Linked DNA regions of Homo sapiens: region 1 is linked to region 2. The links are contacts of gene promoters, found by promoter capture Hi-C in human tissues and cell types (Jung and others, 2019). All regions are on one chromosome and are shown on one strand. The core of a region is centred on a gene start or on the middle of the fragment in contact, and the rest is flanking DNA. Distances in the headings are between cores, read along the strand shown.

Region 1 (4,935 bases), core at 1,779-4,278, 36 kb before region 2:
TCCAAATTGCTTGCTACTAATTTATCAGCAGGAACATCCCAGTGCCCTCACCCAGCCCTCCTCCCCTCCACAGGAAATCTGCGTTTTCACAGGGACCTTTTGGAATCAGTGTTTATGTCTTTTCCAACCCAGAGCTGAGGAAGGGGCTGGGCAGTGGAGGGGCTGGAGGGAGGCTAAAGGGCCAACAGGTAGGGCAGGGAACCTCATGTCGTGAGAACTGGGGAACAGGTCCTGGGCTCCCTTCTGGACCCCAGTCCTCTTGCCCATGCAGGGAGTACAGGGTCTGCCCTGGCGGATCTGGTGGATCTGGAGGTTACTGCTGTAGGCCTGCCCCACCAGCCTGTCCCCAAACATGGATGGGCCCATCACACCCAGAATCTGCTCTCTGCCCCATGGAGCCTGGGCACTTTCCCATTTTTCTTGTTACCAGGATGGCCACGTAGGACCCCTGTGGTCTCAGTGAATCTCCCCGCTGGTGGTGGAGACAAAACTCAATAAACAAGAACTGTCAGGTGACAGCACAGGTCATGATGGACCTAAAGCAGAGGCTGCGCGGCAGCTTGCCGGGGCCGCTATAGGTGGGGCTGGTGCTGGGTGCCTCCCTTGTGGTAGGGCCAGATTGTGGTGGCCTTTCTGGCCTTGCCCCCTTTGGTGATTGGGGCTCTGGATTCCAGGCAAATGGGGTCCTCTGTGTCCTCCCCACTGCAACACAGACATACACTGGGGCCTCAGGTTCCCTGAGGGAGATGTGCAGGGTCCAGTGTCCAGGAACACGGGCTTGGCTACCACAAGAGGCTGTAGTGGGTGGTGGCAAATGTCCCTCTAACTCTGACAGCCGGTGTTCCCTACCTGGGAGCACTTCCAATCCTGTTTAATGAACCTCATGTCTCTCTGGAGCAAGAAGCAGTACCTTGGCCAAGGCCCCTCCCCACATCCCTGCCTCTGTTTCTGCTTCAATCTTTCTTTGTGCCTCTTTCTCCCTTCCTTGATTCCTCTCGGGCTCTCCCCCACCGCAGTCCCCTCTCTTTTCCTCACTCTTCCCCTGGGAGCTCGGGGGCTGGGGAACGGGGCTGCACATACAAGCCGGAGCCATTGTTCAACAATCTGTTTTTGTCTTCATCTTGTTGGCAGGCGGCAGGAGAGGAGCAAAAGGTTAATGAGGCACTGTGCAGCGGGATTACTGCGTGAACGGGCGGGCGGCGGGCGGGCGAGCGAGCCAGCCGTGGTGACAGGGAACTAATTAGGAGCAGTTTAACAGGAGGAAAAAGTGAAATCTCCTCTTCACCAACTGTCAATAATTAGCTGATTTGGTGAGGTTGAAATGTGTCCACAGAAGGTGGGGCTTGTCTGTGGATGAGTGAGGTACGGGGAGCAGGGGGGCAGCCGGGAGCTCGAACCCATCCCTAGGTGATGTTGGGGTGGAGGGGCTGTCCCGTGGCCCCAAGGCCTGCCCTCTGCCCCTCTGGCTGGCATCCCTCTACCTCAACTCTCCATATGACCTTGGGTCTTAACCTCAAAGACCTCAGTTTCCCCAGCTGGAAGATGAGGTGTTGGAACTAAGTTTCTTCCTGTAAGAACCAAGTTTCTCCCAGTAGGATTAGGGAAGTGAAAACTCAAGACAGGGCCCTGGTGCTAGACAGTGGACTGAGTGAGTCCACTTGAGTTACATGCTGCCCCTCAGGTGCCCGGCCTGCAGCAAGGGTGTGCCCTCTGGGAGCCACCCTCTGGGAGCCATGTCTGGGCACGGCAAGTGGGCAGGGCCTTAGCCTTCCTGGGAACGTGTCTTATGGCCCCTAGACCCTCACTGGCTCCTTTGTCCTCCCTGCAGCTGTGGGGGCTGGGGTGGGGATGAGAGATTGGGTAGTGTGCTTCCTGGCTGGGGCTGCGGGCAGGGGAGAGGGCCCTGGGGCGCCCTTGTAGGGGCTGGCGGCTATGAGCGTGTGTCTCTTCCCTGCCTCAGCTGTTGCAGGGGCCCCTGGGGGCAGGAGTGAGGTTCACTGGCCAGGAGGCTTGTTTCCTGTGGGCCTGTTCCCTCCTGGCTGTCTTGTTGGTTTGTTGGCATCTGCCGTCTGCCTTCCCTGAAGCCTCAGCAGAGAACTGACCTCCCCCGGTACCCCCACCACCTGTTCCTGCCCCTTCTAGCTTTTGCCAAGCACCTCAACTAGAAGAAAAGACAGCCTAAGAGTCTCCCAGGGCCAGGGCTTCCTGCCCTGAGCCTCCCATGTCAGCCCTGGGAACTCCCCATGTCCCTCCCTCTCAGCTGAGCCCCTACTCACCTCAGCTCTAGAGGGTTCTGGGGATTAGAAGCCATGTTCTGAGGAAGTCTAAAGCCTTCCCCCGATGTCCTCAGCCCGTTATGAGCCTTGTCTCGTCCTGGCCTCAGAGGGTGGCTCTTACAGGCCACACCCATGTGGTAGACGAGGCAGGAAGGCCAACCTCAGCCACCCCATACTCCTTCCTGCCTCCCCACTTACAGCTTTCAGGGTTAAGAAACAGAGAGGCATACCCTCCCTGTATGGGCAAAAATGTGGGTACCCTCAGTGGGTACCAGAACCTCCACTATCTCTACCCTCTTACCAGCCCTGATGAAAATGGTGGTTTTGATGAACCAGCCTGGCTAAACAGCTGTGAGCCACCAGAAGCAAAGTCCCCCCAGCTTATCTTTCTTTGAGAAAGTATTGGGACCCCCAACCAAGAATGGAGAAGAGCTGGGAATAAGCTGGAATGTGAGTCCACATTCAAGCTGGTCTAGAAATGGCTCCTCCTCCAGGAAGTCCTCCCTGATCTTCCCCACTAAGATCTGTCTCACCTCACCTGTGTAGGCTCTGGTGGTGTGTTTTCTGTGTTCCATCTTCCCCCTTAGGACAGTAGACCTTTCTCCCTTCCATGACACAAGGTGTCCCTGTGGCAGAGAACTGGTGCCCTTTATCAACACCTAGTACAGAGCGTGGCTCATCTGGGTTCACCTTGACTTTGTTGGTCCCTGCTTCTCCCACTCTTCCAGGGTTGATGCGAGGCCAGAGACAATGTCTAGGGCACATTGCATCCCTCCTGAGTCTACAGCAGCATTCAGCGTCTCCCAGAGCAGGGGCCTCCTTCCCTCCAGTCTCAAATCCATCTCCTACTTTGCTTGGAGATGTTTGTTTGGGGTTTTTCTCATTTACTGGTTTAATCAGTCCCTACTGAACTCTAAAGTGGGCTATTTTTGCCGTCAGAAATCTGCTGCCTCCCCGCCCGCTGCTTTCTTGGAGTTTGCCCACAGGACCCCCCAGGAGGGATGGATGGGAATGGCAAAGCCGCTCAGAGCCCAGGAACGCCAACGCCACCTGTCATTTTGCCTGTTCCCCACACCCCCACCCCAAACCTGCGCGTGCACACAGGCTCGCACACATACACGTGCACGCAAGAACATGTACACATGCCCGGGTGGCAGGCCTCGGCGGGGCTGCCTGACAGCCTTTCCCCCACAGTTCTTTTTTCCAGGACCTTCCAGGACACCTAGCTGAATCCAGGATAGGGAGGGAGAAGGCTTGGTTGTGCAGAGCTTCCATTAAAGGCATTAATACATGCAAAGTGGAACATGCCTGGCCTGCAGCAAGGCTCAGCCCTGTGAGCTTAGTGAGTGGGGCTGGGGCTGAGTGTGGGGACCCTGGGTGCTGTCCTCTTTACACAGCATCACGCAGGTTTTCTAAGCCTCCAAAGGGCCATCCTATCCATTTTGTGATATAATCCTCGTGGCACCAGGAGATCTTAGAAAATCTTCCCATCATACATGTGGGGAAACTGAGGCCTCAAAGCTTAGAAGACAGAGGACAGAGAATGATTCTGAGATTGGTCCACCAGAGGGCACCCAGGAATGGTGCAAAGCTCCAAAATGGTAGGGGGCGGGGTGTGGTCTGAGCACTTGCTGGGAACACATAGCACAGGGGAGCCGGAAAAGTGTAAGACAGGATTCTTGCCCACGAGGCACTTCAGTGTCACTTAACTCAGCTGTTACTGAGGACCTACTGTGCACAAGGCATAGGGATACCGAGCTGCCTGGAGCGGCTCACAGTGGGGTGGGGCAGGGGACTACTGTAGTCACCCCTGTTTAGAGTGCAAATGAGCCTGTGCCTGGGGATGGGATGGAGATAAAAGCATGTGCTGGGGACACAGAGGCAGCAGCAATGGATTTGGTCTAAGAATATCAAGGGAGGCTTCCTGGAGGAGGCAGCCTTAGAGGGTCAGGATATAGCCTGGACTTAGGACTCAAAGCGTATACTTAGAATGTACAGAAAATGGACAGCAGTTGATGGGTGAAGAAGCTGGAAAAAGTCCCAGAAGGCCTGGAGTGTCCAGCTGAGGGTTCTTTCACTGAGAAGGTAGTGGGAGCCCAGAGCCAGCACCAGAGGCCTAACTCAGGGGTCCAGGGGTCTAGGCTTAGGCCTCAACTGCTCCCCAGCCCCAGCCTAATGCCTCTGCTCTCCAAAGACACTCAAGATAGCTCTCCCAAAGGTGGGGCCTGGATGTGTGTGTGTCGGAACAGGACATGGGGCCTGCCCAGCCCTGGTGAGAAAGGATGGGATGTTGTGCCCAGTGGACAAAGCGGTCCCAGGCCTGGCAGAGGCCTCAGGCACACAGGGTCAGCCAGGTGCCTGCTTGGGCTTTGGGCCCTGCGTCAATGTCGCCACCTTCTGCAGACCCTCAGAAGCCCAGACCTCTGCCCAGGAGCAGGTGGTGGCTTTGAGCTATGTCACAGGGTCACACCGAACACCCCACCCCCCCAGCCCCATGCCTTTGAAAAGGAGGCAGAAAAGCCATCAGAAGAAAGGCCAGCAGGAGGAAGTTCTTTGTAGTAGGTAAAAGCCCCCAAGAATGGGGCACAGGCAGGGGATCCAGTTTCCTGTTTATGTCTCCGCACCTTAGCTCCAGGTTCAAATATGTAAACTATCTGCT
Region 2 (4,553 bases), core at 546-3,045:
AAAAGAAAAAAACAAACTCCAACAAATTTCAAGGAAGAAAACGAACTCCAACAAATGCAACTCTCTTTTCTCCGGGAAAGACAAATAATTGAAACGTGTGTGTGTGTGTGTGTGTGTGTGTGTGTGTGTGTGTAGGGCCAGTGGAGGATCTTTATTAGCAAGCCGATTGCTGGATGCAAACTCCGGGGTTCGGACTGGCTACGACCTTAAAAGCCCTCTGCCCCCGCCCCCTGCCCGGGAAAACTGTCCTCGGTATTCCAGCAGCCGGGTGGGCTCCCTCCCGAAGGCGGCGAGCAACGGCGGAAGCCAGTTTGCTTACTGCAAACCTTCCCCACCTTGGGTAGGAGAGGCACGTGTGACTTGGAGAAGTCGGGCCAAGGTTGCCGAGAAACATCCCAAGACAGCCAGGCCCTCCACACTGAACATTAACTCTCCGATTCGCCCTCCCTGCTGCCCTTGCTTCCCCCAGAGCTGGGGCACGCGAATGGACTTTCCCCCGCCCGGACGCGCCAGCGAAGGCTGAGGTCTCGGAGGTGGTGGTGGACTTGCGAGAGAAGCGTGGTGCGAGGTTAAGCCGGGCGGAGGGAGAGCGGGAGGAGTTGTACTCTGGTCTGAGACTGGCTCAGCTGGGAGAGAGAATTGGGCAGGCTGTGGCGAGGGCCAGCACAGGCTCCGAGGACGCGCCTGGGCTTGCGTCCGAACTGGTATATTTTCTAGAAAAGCCTGGAGGTCTCCACCTGCTTTCCTGGGAGGGAGACCTACGCGGCGAAGGCGCGGGTGGATGCCGCACAGCTCTTCCCTGCCTGGGAATCTACCTCCGCGGACCTGCAGCCTTCCCGGCAGTAACTTCTAAACAGCCCCGCGCGCCCCCGAGCCTCCCCCGCATCGCCGCAGCACGGGCGCCGGCCGGCCGCCTCGGCGGGCACAGCGTGGACACTCACCCTGGAAGCGGTGGCCGAAGAAGCGGTTCCGCAGGACCCAGGGGTAGAAATGGAGAGGGTCCCGGTGCTGGGCGCCGAAGAAGGAGTGCGGGGGCTGCAGCGGGGAGGCGCCCAGCTGGTGCGCCGGATGCACGGTCAGCGCGGGGTGGTTCATGGCCTCGGGGAACACGAGCTCGGGCCCACCGTAGAGCGAGCGGCCCGCGCCCGCGGCGGCCGCGGCAGGGAAGCCACTCACGAAGGCCGCCTCGGCCGCGCTGGGGTGAGGGTAGTTGAGCGCCGTGGGCCGGAGCGGTTCCTCGGAGGCGGCCGCCGCCAGGAGATGGGAGCCCGCGCCCCCGCCGCCAGTGCCCCCGCCGGTGCCGCCGTCCTTGGCCACCAAGGACTCTATGGTAAAGCCGCGCTTGGCCGCGGGCTGGAACATGGTCGCAGCCGCGGGAGCTGTGCGAGGCAGCCGGGCTCTGGGGAGCGCTCCGCGTCCTGGCGCCGCCGCCTTGCGGGGTGTGCACCCAGCCAGGCACATGCACACCCGCCCGCACCCCTCACCTCCCCCGCCCGCCCGCTCGCGCTCGGCCCCCGCGGGCGAGCCAGGCGCGGAGCGGCGAGGGGTGTGTGAGCGAGCGACCGCGGGGTCCGGCCACAGCGTACGGCCAGGCGCGGCGGCTGCTGCGGCGGAGCGGGCAGCTCCAGGCGCCCGCACAGGCGCGGGCTCCGTGCTAGGCTGCGAGCTGCCAGTAAGGCCCGAGGGTTGAGCTCGTCTCCCTCCTTTCGGAGTCCCGCTGGGACCGACCCCAGCCCCCGGTGTCCCCGCACTGCCCTGCCCAGCCCCGGCCGCCCAGCGCTGCGAGGCGCGAGTTAGCGGGCACCTGCCCCGCGCTCGCCCATTGGCCGCCGCTCACCTGCCCCAAGGTGGGGGGCGGGGCGGGGCGGGGCGAGGGACGGCGGGTGGGGAGGGAGCCCGCAGTCGGAGGCAAAAGCCGGACTGGAGCCTTCGCGGGGAGATCCAGGCCTCCTCCTCCCCTCGCCACTGGCTTCTCCTCGCGACTCCGCCCTTTAGCTGAGTCTGGTGGCCGTGCCGCCGTCTCAACCCACGCGGGAGCCGAAGAAGGCGTCCGAAGGGCTTGGGGCTAAACTCCAACCCTCCCCTCCCCGGTGTGTAGCTCAGCCTAACTCTCCCATTCGTCCCGGGATGTCGTTTCAGTTCTCAGAGAACTTGGATCCGAGCGGAGGGTGGATGTTTGGGGTCCAACACATTGGTTTTCCCGAAAACCAGCTCTCTGCCCCCCTGCTCTCCGGGACTCTCCCACTCACCCACCATCGGCCTCCTGGGCCGCGGTCTGAAGCTGCGACCTTGTTCCTGAGGTTTCGCGTTTTCTGGATGTCACGGGGGACAGCTCTGGAAAGGGGACGCTCACTCCCTTCACAAGGGGCCAGGCGGGGCACTGCGCGGGAGAAGCCGCCGGAGCGGTCCCACTGCCACCCTCCAGCTGTTCGCGGGGCTGGAAGCAGCTCCAGTGCCCAGACACGGTGCCGCGACCGGCTTGGACCAGGACGGCGGGCCTCGGCACTGGGAGATCCACCCCCTCGCCTTCTCTGAGGCTCTGGGGGCTCAAGTGTCGGCGGGCCGGACCAGGTCAGGGCCTCGGAGACACTGTGGCTTAAATTGAAGCTGGCCAAGTAGCCCGAGCCCATCTCAAGAGAACACGCCAGCCGTCAGGACACGCAGAAGCAGCCTGACCTCCCTCGACCTTCACCTTCCACCCGCGACCGCGGAACCGCGGACGACTCTGCTCCGGCCAGTTTTTCCGTACGGCGGACGAATTCCCCGGGGGCAGTTCTCACGACAGGCTGTGAGAGCCGGGACTCCCCAAACTTTCCCACCCCACCTTCGAGGCCGCAGAAAGGCGCCGCTCCGAGGCCTAGGAGGGCGCGGGCGGCGGTGGGGAGGCTGGGACCTGGACCTTGCCGGCGCACTGCGGAGAGGGAGCCGCAGAGAGTTCCGCTTCCTCGCCGCTGCCGGGGTCCATTCTAGCGGCCTGAGCGCTGCCTGGGCGCGCAGATCTGGGTTGGGCCTCCTGACGCCCCAAGGCCACGGGGTCCGTGCGCCGCGCAACTCTGCGGGGACTCCAGGCCGGGTCTTGGCAGCGGCCCGCCTGAGCGCCGGGAGCCGTGGTTTGGAGAGCGCTCAGGGCGCCCCGGCCGCCACAAAGCGGGTTAAAGTCTATTTTCCACTCGACTGCTCCGAAAAGCCCCCGCGCGCCGACGCCGTTCCGGCCCCCTTGGGCGAGGTGGGGAGGGGCGGCCAGGGGTGGGGAGGCGAGGCGGCCGCACCCAGCACTCCTCCGCGTCCTGGGAACCCCGGGGCCTGGCACGGCTGAGACACCGCAGAGGCGCCTTCGGAAGGAATGATGGAATCCGTGGGGAGCGCGGGTTCTCGCTGGCCTCTCCGGAGATTTCCAGCTTTCTGTGATGGTCTTTTCCTCTCGTTTGTGTCTCAGGCTCTTTATTTTCCCCCTCTCCTGTCTCCCGGCTCCCCTACCTCCCGACTTTTCCTCCTCTGATTTCTTCCCCCTCCTCCTTTTCCCCACCCTCAGTCTGGGAAAAGTGGAAGCGCCGCCGAGGGGGGGACCAGGACCCGACCAGGCCGTATCTCTAAGGGGGCGGGGGTGCGGAGCTGGGCAGAGGTACAGAAGGAGATTTTCGTTCCATATGGAAGGAGACAACGACGGGATTTTGTTGGAACAAGGTTCCCACAGGGATGCGGGTTCAGTTGGGTAAACGTTGCCTGGGCCTGTGCTCTGCGGTGACAGAGCAAGTGCTGGGGGCTGAGACAAGACAGGAGCCCAGCAAGCTGAACCCGGCCCGAGGGCCTTGCGCTCCTAGCCTGGTAATGAATCCCACCCGTTCTGTCGCAGACCCCCACCGAGAGGCTGGCCAGGGGCCACGAACTTGTTTAACTGGGCAGGTAGAGAAGCTTGGAATCTACCGACCGTCCTAGACTTGCATCTACACTGGCCACCTCCTTTCATTCGTGTGGCTCTGGGTATACTTGTTCATATCTAAATCAATAGACCTTTTATTACACCACCTTCCCTTGTGAGGCATTCAAATGCTGACATTTCTACTCGGGAGGCTGAGACAGGAAGATCTCTCGAGCCCAGGAGGTCGAGGCTGCAGTGAGCCGTGATCATACCGCTGCACTCCAGCCTGGGCGATACAGGGAGATCCCATCTCTAAAACAAACAACAAAAAACGTTGACATCCAGCTGTCTGTCATTAACTCCACTTTACAGATGAAGAAACAGCGGAGGATCAGTAACTTGAGTCTGGTCACCGTCTTGGTTGGGCTGGGACAGCCCCGGGGTCCCAGCCTGGCCTAGCTTCCACTCCCATTCCATCCCTGTGAGGATGCAGTCGCAGACTTCCCGGGGGAGGGGGAGGGGGTGCTGGAATGCGCTGGGTGATAGGAGTTCCGTTTTCGTCCTCCCTCACCTTTTCCTCTCCCAGCGCCCCTTTCTGTCAGCTTCCTCTCCAGTAATTCCCTAATTTTCTTCCTTTTCTTCCATAGCTCTGCTTATCTTTATCCCTTGGCCAGTTTCCTCTATTTTCACTCCT

The links. Contacts are between HindIII fragments. The study calls those that stand out against the background at their distance.
Region 1: a fragment that was not itself captured here is called in contact with the fragment with the promoter of EMX1 in region 2 in 1 of the 25 tissues and cell types used here (H1 embryonic stem cells).

Annotation. Positions count from the first base shown.
Region 1 is chr2:72,951,550-72,956,484 of GRCh38, reverse strand. The region is part of intron 13 of SFXN5 (sideroflexin 5); the gene reads left to right. Among named protein-coding and RNA genes, the nearest start is that of EMX1, 36 kb to the right of the region's middle. RefSeq lists a silencer at 2,327-2,496 and enhancers at 3,890-4,391, 4,392-4,893. The HindIII fragment of the contact is 8,875 bases long and covers 1-4,935 here.
Region 2 is chr2:72,914,761-72,919,313 of GRCh38, reverse strand. It overlaps EMX1 (empty spiracles homeobox 1), which reads right to left and starts at 1,795. Exons shown (of 3, transcript NM_004097.3): 1 at 942-1,795. The coding sequence starts at 1,461. RefSeq lists silencers at 1,390-1,509, 1,580-1,999, 3,140-3,309 and enhancers at 1,814-2,430, 2,431-3,048. The HindIII fragment of the contact is 9,258 bases long and covers 1-4,553 here.